Regions from separate parts of the Homo sapiens genome. Here region 1 is linked to region 2. Evidence: promoter capture Hi-C in 16 types of primary human blood cells and fetal thymus (Javierre and others, 2016). All regions are on one chromosome and are shown on one strand. The core of a region is centred on a gene start or on the middle of the fragment in contact, and the rest is flanking DNA. Distances in the headings are between cores, read along the strand shown.

Evidence for each region. Contacts are between HindIII fragments. The CHiCAGO score rates a contact against its expected background, and 5 or more counts as called.
Region 1: a fragment that was not itself captured here is called in contact with the fragment with the promoter of SUN3 in region 2 in 1 of 17 cell types (total CD8 T cells); the score reaches 5.9 in total CD8 T cells.

What each region holds. Positions count from the first base shown.
Region 1 is chr7:48,128,930-48,135,802 of GRCh38, reverse strand. No RefSeq gene overlaps it. Among named protein-coding and RNA genes, the nearest start is that of ABCA13, 39 kb to the left of the region's middle. RefSeq lists an enhancer at 2,122-2,729. The HindIII fragment of the contact is 1,123 bases long and covers 4,845-5,967 here.
Region 2 is chr7:48,025,106-48,032,386 of GRCh38, reverse strand. It overlaps SUN3 (Sad1 and UNC84 domain containing 3), which reads left to right and starts at 3,280. Exons shown (of 10, transcript NM_001030019.2): 1 at 3,280-3,570; 2 at 6,449-6,510. The coding sequence starts at 3,449. RefSeq lists an enhancer at 2,890-4,089. The HindIII fragment of the contact is 1,156 bases long and covers 2,131-3,286 here.

The DNA.
Region 1 (6,873 bases), core at 4,157-6,656, 100 kb before region 2:
TGGGCTACAAAGCGAGACTCTGTCTTAAAAAAAAAAAAAAAAAAGAGGGTTTTAAAGATTATTGGTAAAATACAATTGTCTTCAAAATGTAAACATGTGGTCTAAATTATGTTGAAATGTTAGGTTTGCTATATGCTTTAAGGTCATAGGCTGCTTTTTTTGCTTTTGAAAATTGTTTAACTCACCTGCTTTCCAGCTAGGTGAGGCCTAGGAACATGTGGGGTTGGCCATGCCCCAGCTATGCTGGAAATAGTCAAACCTTATCAGAACATAACTTACTAGGTTTTACACTAAAGTGAAAATTGCTAAGAGTTACCACTGTAACATGCATTTAAGACTACTACAAACAGTTTCACATACAAGGCATGTAAAAACAGGAGAATGTGCCCTTTTTGTAAAAGGTTATAAAAGGTTTTTGCTTCTTTATAATTTCTGAGTCATCATTTTGGCAAAATAAATGATTTATGGTAATATGGAGTTCCAAAATAAAACTTCAGTTTCAAAATTGTCTCTCCTAATGCCTGGCTTTCTGGATGGATCAGAGGGCCCTGAAAACATACAGAGAAGAGGTAAACAGGATTATTTGACATGTTTAGGTACATGGGATTGCCAAAATGGTGTTCAATCTTCTTTAGGTTATATTTTTGTGAATAATCTAACATATGTTCCAAACTTATATGGGATTTCTAAAATAGTATATGCTATCAATTATAATTATGGTTATTATGTTATTGTAAACCACAGAAATAACCAAATTTCCTTGTATAAAGCTACTAACCCAAAAATTAATTAAATACCAAGAAAATACTTTGTCAGATTTTCATGTTAAGCCAGCTGACACTGAAATTGTTTAAAATAGTTTATAACCAATGCTTGACCCCATATTCCTGGGAAAACAATTAAAGCTTCACGTACATTTTGTCAGGCATGGTGACCCATGTCTGTGATTCCAGCTCTTTGGGAGGCCAAGGCGGGCAGATCACTTGAGGTCAAGAGTTCAAGACCAGCCTGGCTAACATGGTGAAACCCCCTCTCTACTAAAAATACAAAAATTAGCCAGGCATGGTGGTAGATGCCTGTAATCCCAGCTACTTGGGAGGCTGAGACAGGAGAATTGCTTGAACCCAGAGGTGCAGTTTGCAGTGAGCCGAGATGGTGCCACTGCACTCCAGCCTGGGCGACAGAGCAAGACTCTGTCTAAAAAAAAAAAGAAAAAAGAAAAGAAAATACCTGGTAGGCCATTTAAACGTTATAAAGGGATTTCATTTGATTGTTATTTTCAATGCATGTTTTCTGGTTGTAAAGCTTTCTCATGCAAGATGGCTGATGTTATAACAGTAGATTATTATGCTGCAGTGTATTTTCACCAGGTAAAAAGGCTTTTTATGGTTTGGATCTTCTGAGAACATTGGAGAGTTTCCTTGCCATCCACACTACAACAAAACTTCAGGACCTTGGGCTTTGGGTTCATCACATCTCTCGGTGGGGAGATGAGGCAGGAAAATAGGGTCTGGAGGCAGTGAACATAAGGCCGATTCACACTTCAGCTGTGACAGGAAATAGCCTCTCCATAGAGTGTAGTCCAAGTAAATGACTTTGTAACTTTACTTCATCCTCTTCATTTACATAGGGCATACCCAAAGCAAAGGATATTGAAACTCCCCAAAATTTTGTAACAGGGCCTTTGAGCCCCTATGCTCAGGCCTGCTCCCACACTGTGGACTGTACTTTCATTTTCAATAAAACCCTTCATTCCTTTCTTGATTTGTTTGTGCATTTTGTCCAATTCTTTGTTCAAGATGTCAAGTACCTGGAGACCCTCCACCATTAACAGTTGGGGTGCAGCTTAGTTTTTATACATTTTTAGGAGACATGAGACTTCAATCAAATACATTTAAGATGTACATTTCTTTGGTCCAAAAAGGCGGGACCACTCAAGGTGGGTGTGCGGGGCTTCCAGGTTATTGGTAGATTTAAATATTTTCTGATTAGCAATTGGTTAAAAGACTTTATTGAAAAACCTAGGACCAATCGAAAGGAAATGTCTGGGTTAAGATAAGGGGTTGTGGAGACCAAGTTTCCTTTTTTTTTTTTTTTCAGATGGAGTCTTACTCTGTCACCCATGCTGGAGTGCAGTGGTTCAATCTCGGCTCACTGCAACCTCAGCCTCCCAGGTTTAAGTGATTCTCCTGTCTCAGCCTCCCAAGTAGCTGGGATCACAGGCGTGTGCCACCACGCCCATCTAATTTTTGTATTTTTAGTAGAGATGGGGTTTCACCATATTGGTCAGACTGGTCTTGAACTCCTGACATCAGGTGATCCACCCACCTCAGCCTCCCAAAGTGAGCCACTGTGGCCAGCCGACCAAGGTTCTTATTATGCAAATGAATCCCCCAGGTAGTGGGTTTCAAAGACAATAGATTGTAAATGATTCTTATCAGACTTAAAAAGGTGCCAGACTCTTAGCTGATTCTCTCCTGGATCAGGAAAAATGCCTGGAAAGGAAAAGGGGATTCTCTACAGAACATAGGTTTTTCAAGAGATGACTTTGCAGGATAATTTCAAAATATGGCAAGGAAATACATTTGGAGTTAAAATATTTTGATTTCTTTCATTATCTGTCATGTAATGTTATGCCAGAGTCAGGATGGAAAGCAGGCTATGTTAAATAAGCCCTTCTGAGGAGACTTTATGGTGTGTAGTGCATGACTCCCCAAACCTTTTAGGTAGGAATTTGGACAACAGAAGAAAAAAGGTCAGAGTTTAACTCTCAACACAAATAGAATAATCAAAACTCAATTGGCAAAAATTTGCTGAGCTTTGTAGAATTCCTTGTCTGAAACCTTTTCCATTGGTTTTACTTTGCCTAAACTCAACCCCTTTTGGTAAATACCAACTGTCTCCATTTGAAATTATAACAGGCAGACCTATGAAATTATTTCCAGAAAACTGTGAATCTATGGTATTAAAAGAATATGTTGAATAATTGCAACAGCTTTATAAGGCAGCCAACTAGAAACTATAATTTAGTAAAAGACTCTTTCCACAGTGACCTCCTGTAGGATGAAAAATTCTAGGACCATGGACTTCAACCAGGAGATTTTGTCTGTTGGAAATAAGATCTTTTAAAAGACTTCCTCCAGCCAAGATGAAAGGGAATTATCAGGTGCTCCCAACCAATCCTCATGCCACTAAGCTAAAAGGAATTGACTCATGTCACCCATTTAAAGAAAGCCACTTTGACCGGGCACGGTGGCTCACGCCTGTAATCCCAGTATTTTGGGAGGCTGAGGTGGGTGGATCACCTGAGGTCAGGAATTCGAGACCAGCCTGATTATCATGGAGAAACCCCGTCTCTACTAAAAAATACAAAAAAATTAGCTGGGCGTGGTAGCACATGCCTGTAATCCCAGCTATTCAGGAGACTGAGGCAGGAGAATTGCTTGAATCCGGGAGGCAGAGGTTGCGGTGAGGCAAGATCGCACCATTGCACCCCAGCCTGGGCAACAAGAGCGAAACTCCATCTCAAAAAAAAAAAAAAGAAGAAGAAGAAGAAAAAAAGAAAGCCACTTCACCAATTTGAACTTTGTCTCAAACTGGTGATCTAAAAAAATTCTCCAGAACCAACAAGAATGAGAAAAAGACAACATCTGAGATAAACAGCTTTCCTAAGACACTGGACTAATCCTGTATCTATATAAATGCTAAACATTAATAATTGTTAGTAGATGGAGAATATCTTTCTTTGAAGTTCCCACTAAATTTCTTTTTTTGTTTTTATGTCCCTAGTTCTTGGGCTTTCTTGCCACTATCAACAGTTATTGCCCATAGCAAACCTCTTCTTTCAGTGGGCTCAGGACCATGCTAGCAGATTACAGAAAAACACTTGTTGGGTATGTGGCCTCATGCCCTTCTCCAGTGGTTCTGCCTGCCATGGTGGATATCTCCTTTCCAAAGACAAGATTAGATAGAATGTCAGAAATATATCCATGTTTCTCAAGAACAGTGATCACTGCTTCATACTAGCATGACAAAGGATGACGTGCGTCACTGGCCTGTTAATAATACTATACAAAGCAAAGCACATGGGAAGAGCATTTCAGTAAAAGAGACCAATTTATTAGCTTTAATGCTGGCACTGACCCAACTGAGAGATAAAGCAACTGAATTTGGGGATGATATAATACAAATTCGGAACTGTTTTAGCTGGCTTACCTCCTCTTTTGGTCAGATTTAAGTTGGGAATGAAAGAATCACACCAAAGATACATGGCTCAATAGCACTAGAGATATGTGATGGATAACCAAGGAAATGTCTAACCACATCAGTATATCACACAGTACTGATTGACATGCCCCTGAATGGGCACAGAGAGTGGGTATTTACTGGCTAGCTCTAAATGGCTGTATCTTGGCTGTGTGGCACCAATCTGTGGTCACATTTACCCCTAGGATGGTTAGGACGGTGTTCTTTGGGTTATGCCTGGGCACAAGGTTGAGCAGTTCATATTCCTTCAAGGCCTGCAAATCTTCCTCATTTATAATATCAATGGGTTTGTTCTGTATCCCATCAGTATGATCATTTAGCTTCCATCTTTCTGCCCAACTGTGTATTGAGTATGCCATTTGGCATGTAGAGGCCCTAACCAACTATATAAAATGAGGCCCTAAATGATAGCTGCATGGTTATCTCGTTATTAAACAATGGCATTGCTCTTATGAGAAGGGCTGCAGACATACTCACTGCAGCCCAAGGAGAAACCTGTGCTGTCATAAAAACTGAGTGTTATGTCTGTACCCCAGATGAGTCAGATCATCACTAACTTAATCACCAATATGAAAGCTTAAAAAACTACCCTTTCAGATCCAATATCCTCTCTAAAAGATTGGCTGAGCAGCTGGTTTGGATCTTGCAGAATTTGGTGGTTACTTGTTCTCAAAACTATAATCCTTTGTTTTGTTTTGTCTTTACTGCTGCTGAGGCATTCTTTCACAATGTAGTCAATGCACAACTGAAAAAAACTAAAATAATTGTCATTCAAAGAATTGCATTAATTGAAGTTGTAGCCATGCAGCCTGACTCAGGTCTCAAAGCCACTTCCTTTATGTTGCTTTAAATTCAGCCTATACCCCATCAGCTTTAGAGCCTGACAAACTCCTTCTTCTGTGAGACATGACACTCTAAGAATTAGCCTTCCTAGTGATGTGGGATTAAACTCCTGAACCAAAAGGAGCCCAAACCATTTGAGTTTATCTACAAGACTTTCTTTGAAAGATCTTAATGAAAAGGGGAAAATGTGAAATTAAATAATTGTACTTAAAGCTGTCGTAACGTTAAATTATTCTGACCCTTAAGGGGGTATGTCTATACAGTCTGCTGCATTTTCTTCCTGTAAATAATTAGGAAGACCAGACAGCACCAGAGATAAGACTCCCTCAGATCACTATCCCTCCTCACCGAGTAATAATCTTCCTTGGAATGTAGCAATTTGTAACCAATCAAATCTTTGTAACTATGCACTGGTCTTGTATGGAAAGTGTAAAATTTCTCTGTCTCTGCCTACATAAGTAGGCATAATTCCCACATGTTGTGGGAGGGACCGGGTGGGAGATGATGGGGGCAGGTCTTTCCCATTCTGTTCTCGTGATAGTGAATGGGTCTCACGAGATCTGATGGTTTTAAAAATGGGAATTACCCTGCACAATCTCTCTCTTTGCCTGCTGCCATTTACATATGATGTGACTTGCTCCTCCTTGCCTTCAGCCGTGATTTTGTGAGGCTTCCCCAGCTACATGTAACTGTAAGTCCAATTAAACCTCTTTCTTTTGTAAATTGTGCGGTCTCAGGTATGTCTCTATCAGCAGTGTGAAAATGGACTAATCCATATGTGAAACCGTAACTTCTCCACTTTGGAATGCTGATTCCATTGGTTTGGAATTGGTGTTCCCAAGTGGCCATCCTCAAGCTTTCTGCTTGGATAATCTCAATGTTTAATCATATTTTCTGAACTTTATTATTTAAAGTTTATGCTCCCTATTTCTCATATCCCTCTTCTTCTCCCTAGGACCTTATCGTCCTGCCAGGATCTCAGATCCAACCTATTGTCGATAACAGTGTGAGACCCCTAGGGTTCAGAGACTCACTCCCAGATTTTTGACAGAATCTCTGGAAGATATTTTATTTCTTCAGATTCTTCAAAGAAAATCAAAAATTCAAGACAAACATTTTTTATCTTGATAATATTATTGACCTCTGGAAGGTGTTCATTGATATATCACTGGGCTGATACAGTTTACCTCTTTGGATTGTTTACCAAAGTCTCCGCAACAAAGGGAAGAAGAAAGAAGTGGATGTCAAGAAAAGAACATTCCTTCCTGTTATTAAAGTTCTACCCTGAACCAAAATATGCTGGATACCAGAATCTTTTCTGTTTTGAATCTGGAAAAATACATCCAACCTGCCTCCCCTCTACTCAATATCTCCCTCAGGTTGAAGAAGGATCACATTCTGTCTTGGTCATCTGCAAGCTTCATACCCGGAGATATGATCTAGCTCTGAATCTCTCACCTTCACAATTGTACACACTTAAAAAGTAACAGTTTACATTTTGCACACTAACAGTAGAGCTCTGGGAATCTATGAGTGCATTTGCTTTTACCAGTTTTTGCATTAAGCTAGCCTCAGACATTCAGATTTTTTTTCACACAAATGTCTTAATGACCTTCCTCCAAGTTCACACCAACCTATTTGGATACAGCTGTTAATTAGTCATCAGTGGTAGGTCCCAATTTCTATTTCAATTGCGCAGATGAAAAGTTCTACTAACAAGTTCTGCAGTGGAGAAACCTGTTTAAATGTAAGAGTTTTCCTACC
Region 2 (7,281 bases), core at 2,031-4,530:
GTTTCAGTTGTACATGTTGGTTTTATACACATGTACGTTGTGAAATAATTACTACAATCAAGCTAATTGACATATTCATCATCTCACTTAGTTACCTTTGTGTATGCGTATGTGGGGTAAGAACACTTGAGATCTATCTACTCCCTCAATACATTTCAAGTATACAATACAATGTTGCTAACTGTAGTCAGCATGCTGTACATTCGATCCCTGGAATGTATTCCTCTTGTAACTGAAGCTCTGCACCTTTTGACCAACATCTCCCCATTCCCACTCCCTCTGCCCATCAGCCACTGGCAACTCCCATTCTACTCTTTGCTTCTACACATTTGACTTTTTAGGCTCCACATATAAATTAGATCATACAGTATTCACCTATCTGTGTCTGGTTTATTTCACTTAGCATAATGTTCTCCAGGCTCATTCATGTGGACACAAATGACACAATTTCCTACTTTTTATGGCTGAATAATATTCCATTCTCTTTCTCTCCCCCCACCACCACCACACACCCACCGTGTGTGTGTGTGTGTGTGTGTGTGTGTGTGTGTGTGCATAAATCACATTCATTCATCCATCAATAAACACTTGGGTTGTTTTTATATCTTGGCTTGTAAATAGTGATACAATGAACATGGAAGTGCAAATATCTCTTCAACACACTGATTTTATTTCCTTTGGATATATATACCCAGAAGTGGGATTGCTGAATCATAAGGTAGTTCTATTTTTAATTTTTTAAGGCACTTCCATACTGTTTTTCATAATGAGTATACCAATTTACATCCCACCAACAGTATACAAGGGTTACATTTTCTCTGCATTCTTGCCTACACTTATCTTTATATATTTTTGTTTGTTTGTTTTAAGATTAACAATTTCTTTAAAATATGGGGTCTGGCTATGTTGCCCAGGCTGGTCTCAAACTCCTGGGCTCAAGCAGTCCTCCTGCCTCAGCATCCCGAGTAGCTGGGATTACAGGCGTGTACCACTTTGTGCAACACTAGCTGTTTATCTTTTTTATAATAGCCATCCTAACAGCTGTGAGGTGATATCTCATTGTTGTTTTGATTTACATTTCCCTGATGATTAATGATGTTGAGTAGCTTTTCACATGCCTGTTGGCAATGTGTATGTCTTCTCTGGAAAAAAATGTCTATTTAGGACCTTTGCCAACTTTTAAATTCAGTTATTTGTTTTCTTGTTATTAAGTTCCTTTGCTGTGCAAAAGCTTTTTGGTTTTTGGTTTGATGTGGTTCCACTTATTTATTTTTGCATGTGCTTTTGATGTCATATTTAAAAAGTCATTGTCAAGACCAATGTCAGGGAGATTTTTTCCTTGTTTTCTTCTAGGAATTTTATGGTTAGAGGTCTTATGTTTAAGTCTTTTATCTATTTCAAGGTATTATTTGGGTATGGTGTAAGATAACTGTCCAATTTAATTCTTTTGCATGTGAATATCTACTTTTCCCAGCACCATTCATTGAAGAGACTACAGTGTCCTTTCCTTATTGTGTACACCTGACAAACTTATCAATGATTAGTTGGCTGTATATGTGCGGATTTATTCTTGAAAAATACACATAGACTTTGACCCAGAAGTTCCTCCTCTGGGTATATATCCTTAAAGATATATTCACACATATGGATAATAACTTAAATACAAGATTACTATTGCACATTATTTTAAATACCAAACTGCCCATCAATATGAGACAGGCTAAATAGCCTATGGCCCATTCACCCAATGAAACACTATTCAGTCATAAATAAATGAGGAAGATTATCTCAAACAATCAAAACAACTTCCAAGATACATGTTTAAGGGAAAGAAGCAAGATGCAGAGCACAGTTTATAGTAAGCTACCATTAGGAATGTGGAGAGATAAATATACCTATAAAATATTACATATATAATACAATGTCACATACTGTGCATGTGTATCACATCTTTGAAAGGAAATACTATAAATGGTAGCATAGATGCTAAAAGAGAGGGGAACCAATAGCTAGAAGGCAGATGCCGGGTGGAAAGGCCATATTTGCTGTGTACCATTTTGTAACTTTCGAATTTTGGACTAGTAGGTAAAAAAGTAGAAACTTGGGGGTTTCTTGGTATAAATCTAAGCTTTCAGAAAATAAGTAGTAAATTGAAAAATAACACTTACAAATTCACCCAGAAATCAGCATAAGTAAAAAGAGAAAAAAGCAAAAACAAATATGAAGGAGCAGTTGAACGGAAAGCAAAAGGGAGACACAAGTGTCAATAGGTGGACCATTCTAAGAAAATTGAGGCAGTGGCAGAGAAGCAATATTTGAAGCCCTGATGGCTGAAAAATAGTCCAGAACTGAAAAAACACACAAGTACCCAAATTGAAAAGACTCTCTGAGTTATAAGTGAGGAAAAACAAAAACTAGTATCAAACCTGGATACACTAAAATACAACTGGAAAATATGGATAAACAGAAAATCTTAAAAACTACGCGAGAAATTGCCAAAAAAAACAGAGAAATGAAGATAAGACAGAATTCTCATCAACAACAATCAATCCACAAGGCCATGGAGTAGTATCTCCAAAGTGCTGAGAGTGAAATGACTGTCATCGTAGAATTTATGCCCCAAATAAACCAGCTCATCCTTCCACCTAACTATTCTGTTTCTAGGTGTATGTTTAGAAAAACCTTGTGATGTGCATATAACAACGTGCAATGAGCATTATTCCTTGCCAAAAAAACTGAAAACAACCTAAGCATACATTTACAGAAGGATGGGTAAATGAATTGTGATGTATGTATAATGAAATACCATAGAGCAATTAAAATGAGTGGAGTTAATGTCTCAAGATAAATAATATTGTAAGAAAACCTAGAGTGGCATAACATTTAGTTTATGTTTTAAGCATGAAAATGGTATTATTTATAGATACAGATTTACATAGTAAAGTATCAAAAATAATGAGAATAGAGTATATCAATTTTCAGGTTGTAGTTATCTGTGGAAAATAAGAGTGCTGAGATTCAGGGATACTTGGGGGTCTACTATTATATTTCTGATATTTTCTTTATTAGAAAAGCACTGAAGCAAACACAGCAAAACATCCAGATTTGCTATCGAAAAGCGGTAGGTACATGGGGGGGCCTTTGTATTATTCAGTGGGTGTGACATATGGTACAATTAGGCCCTTGAAGCAGAGAGGTGGTTGCCTGTCCATGCCCTGGCTGGGCGTGGTGGCCATCTGCATTATGAGGTGTCACGGAGGATGATGCAACAGAAGAATCAGAAGCTTTTCAAAATTCCGTCTTCAAGAAGAAACACCCGTGGAGGAAGAAGACATTATACAAAACAAATTTAGAAACTGTATGTATAGCTTCATGTTTTTCATAAAATAGGAATGAGGACAAATGTTGCTCTTCATCCTACCAGCTGTTTGTTCTTTGGTAGGGGATCATGAGTGGAAAAACAAAGGCAAGAAGGGCTGCCATGTTTTTTAGACGTTGCTCTGAAGACGCCAGCGGTAGCGCCAGTGGCAATGCTTTGTTATCAGAGGACGAAAATCCTGATGCGAATGGGTAGGTAAACATGGCAGAACGGTGTGCCTGAAATTGTAGGTTTTATGTGTTACATCTGTCACTTGTGTCTGTTCATCTGTTACCTGTTACCCGACAGTATTTTCTCCCTTTATAGAGAAAATCATTTTCAATAGTTTCCTTTGAAGGTTTCTCTTCATCACAGTCTTACACTTGATCACAATACTTCTATGTCAACGGTATCTGGATTAATAACAGCAGACTTGGGAGAAGGATTAAGAAAGGAGAGCCACCCTCTTTAAAAGAATGAGCCACAGCAGCAGGAACTTAAAAGCTTCCAGATAATTCACTTTTTTTTTTTTTTTTTTTTTTTTTTTTTGTCATTGGGCTAGCTTGTATAGTCTTGGTGGTATGCAGAGCTTAGCACCGGGCTCAGGACTCTGGGCACAGAGTGGCATTTATTACATTCTTGGGTGATAATTGACTAAAGACTCTGGTAGGGGATGCACATTTTGAGTGAATCACCCTGTTTCCTCTAGTGAGAACATATGTGGGGATTATTATAGCAGGGAATCCAAATACCCTAAACCTATTTACAAACGCCCTGCCCATGTGCTGCCTGCTGGGAAAACAAAAACTACAAGTAATGAAATAACCTTCCTATTGGTAACAATGAAGCACTTGCACAGAACAAAACTGTCAATAAAAATAAAAGGAATGCTACAAAGTTATTAGTACAAGTAGAGCAGCATTTCAAAATCACAGTAATAACAAAATATGCTTGCCCCAAATGGCAGAATCCCACTGGCTGGGTGAAGGCACCGAAGGAATTTTGCAATGCAGAGCCTGGCAGCCAGTTTTCTAGTGAAAAACAAAAAACGAAAAACACTGGAGTTAATCTTTGGTAAATATGGTAATGTGATAATTTTCACTTAATGCAGCCCACCAAAAGAGCTCTTGTAGACCATAACTGACCTATGAACAACTTTTTTAATACAGTGGACCCCCTACCACTCTCCACATCTCCAATAATAGTTAAAAGGAAGAGGTTCCAGAATACACTTCCCTGGAGGGGAAGAGAGTTAAGAAAATTCTCTTCTTAGTTGGTTTCCACACTGTCACACTCTTGGATGGCTAATAGGTATGACTGCTTTATGTAGGGTAGATAAGCTACTTAAAGATTCTGTACTGGGAGAATTAGGCGGCCCACTCTAGTGAATACAGTTAATGAATGGTCCATCTTAATGTGATTTTTCTTATGTTTTAAGTAGAAATTTTTAGTTTGCCAACTTGTAATACTTTATCCGGAAGTTTATAGCCTTCACGTTAGATTAATGTGATCATTTTAGCTTCCCTCCCCATCCACCCTTTAGGGCTTTTTAAAAGGTTAGATGTGAAAAGGTTGTCATTACAACCACTTTGTAACACTGAGCAAAATCTACTGCAACGGATTATGCATGTATCCTATGACCCATCAATGTCTCTCTTGAAAATACACTTAAATGAAATACATACTTGTCTTCATCAGAAACCATGTACAAGAATGTTCATAGCTGCATTGCTTGTAGTAATATTTATAACTGCATTGTTTATCATAGCCCCAAACACCCATCAATGTTAGGATGGATACCCACATGATATATTCACACAATGAAATACTACACAGTTATAAGAATGAATGAACCACAACTATACACAACAGCACAGTTGACTCTCACAGACTTAAGACTGGGAACAGGAGGCAGACAGATAGAGCCCATACCCACATGGGTCCATTTATAGATGGTTCAAACCCAGACAAACCTACTTAATGGGGATAGAGCTCAGGAGAGCAGGTACCTTTGGAGGTGGGAGGTATAGGGTTGATAAGGGCATAAGATGGGCTTCTGATGGGCTTGGTATATTCATCTGCTCGGGCTGCAATAATAAATACCACAGACTGGGTGGCTGAAACAACAGAAATTTACTTTTTTTAACAGTTTTGGAGGCTGGGAAGTCCAAGGTTCCAGCTGATTTGGTCTCTAGCGAGGGCTCTCTTCCTGGATTGCCTTCTCACTGTGTCCCCATGTGACCTTTCTTCTGACTGCACAAAGAGAGAAAAAGTTCTGGTCTCTCTTCCACCTCTTCTAAGGACAACAATCCTGCTAGTTTAGAGTCCCACTCATAACCTCTTTTACCCTTAATTAGCAATTAAAGACCCTATCTCTAAATACAGTAACAATGATGGTAGGGCTTCAACAAATGAATGTGTGTGTGTGTGTGTGTGTGTGTGTGTGTTGGGGGGTGGGGTGCAATTCAGTCCACAGAACTGAGTATGCTCAATTTCCAGTCCTGGGTGAGGTTTCATGGATGTGTTCATTCTGTGAGGCATCACTGGTCTGTACAATTATACAGAAAAGAGCACAAATCGTATTTGTATAGCATACTGTACTTCAACACAGAGTAGGAAAAAAGGTCATGGTGGCTTTAAAGAATTTTATCAGATATTTCTTAACTGTCATAGTTCTTTAGCTTAGTACAAAATTTCCATAAAATCAGAACCTGATTTTTCTTTTTTTTCTTTTTTTGTAGCTAGTTCTACATTTGAGACCTCCAGAAAACTGCCTTTGTTTTTTTCTTATAAGTATTTTAAGAATATAAATAGACATATACTAGCATAAGCATTGCATATGTGAAAGTAAGAGGCATGACTCTATGTATGCGCACTCATATATGCTGGTGAGTGTGTATCATCACTAAAACGATCTTCTCTCAATTTAAAAAATAGTGGATTGGAAATTAAAGTAATTCATAGACTCAACCTAGATTAAGCAAGAATGAAAATAAGTAAGTTTGTTGACGTGAGTGTAGTGGCTAAAGTCCAAGTTAAATGCATGATGTTGTTAAATTCTTTTTCTAATCATTGTTTTTATTCTTTTAGGGTAACTCGATCATGGAAGATTATTCTAAGTACAATGCTTACACTGACTTTTCTTCTTGTAGGTAAGTCTTCCTAAGTAATGATCCTTAAAACCATTCCACAGGTTATGTCTGCCTGGTGAGAGAGATCTCAACGGAATGACTCATATTTGTAAATAAATGCCACGGAAAGTGCTGGAGGTGACCTGCACATTCTCAAAGCTTTTTCGTTTGTTTTTTATTTCTGATTGTAAGAGTAATACTGGCTTTTTAATAGAAAATTTAGAAAGGAGATTTTTCTTTTAGAATTGTGGTTTGCTTTTTGCAAATTTTTTAGTCATAGATGTTGCTTTAAAGTTAAGAATTTCTAATATATTTATTGCAAACATACATTTTACCTTTTCTAAATTTAGGTGACTCCACTTGGGAGGTTTTGACAACCAGAGACTCTTGCTCATCACACAGTTCCCAAATAAATTACTGCAGAATGTGCAGTTTGTAGTTTCGTATCGGGAAATATCACCATCCACCACCCCTAGCACACTGGAAAATTGTTCTTTAATATATTCACAACTTAAGGCATGTATCTCCCATTAAAATAAAAGTTTCAACCCAGTTATTGTTACAAAAAAGATCATATAGCATGTGATCTTTCTTATCTGCCTTCTTTCACTTAGCATAATGTTTTTAAGGTTCATCCATATCCTATCATGTGTCAGTTCCTCATTCCTTTTTGTAGCTAAATAATATTTCATTGTATGTATATACCTCATTTTGTTTATCCATTTATCTATTCATGGACATTTAGAGTGCTTTTATCTTTAGGCTATTGTGAATAGTGATGCTGTGCATAAG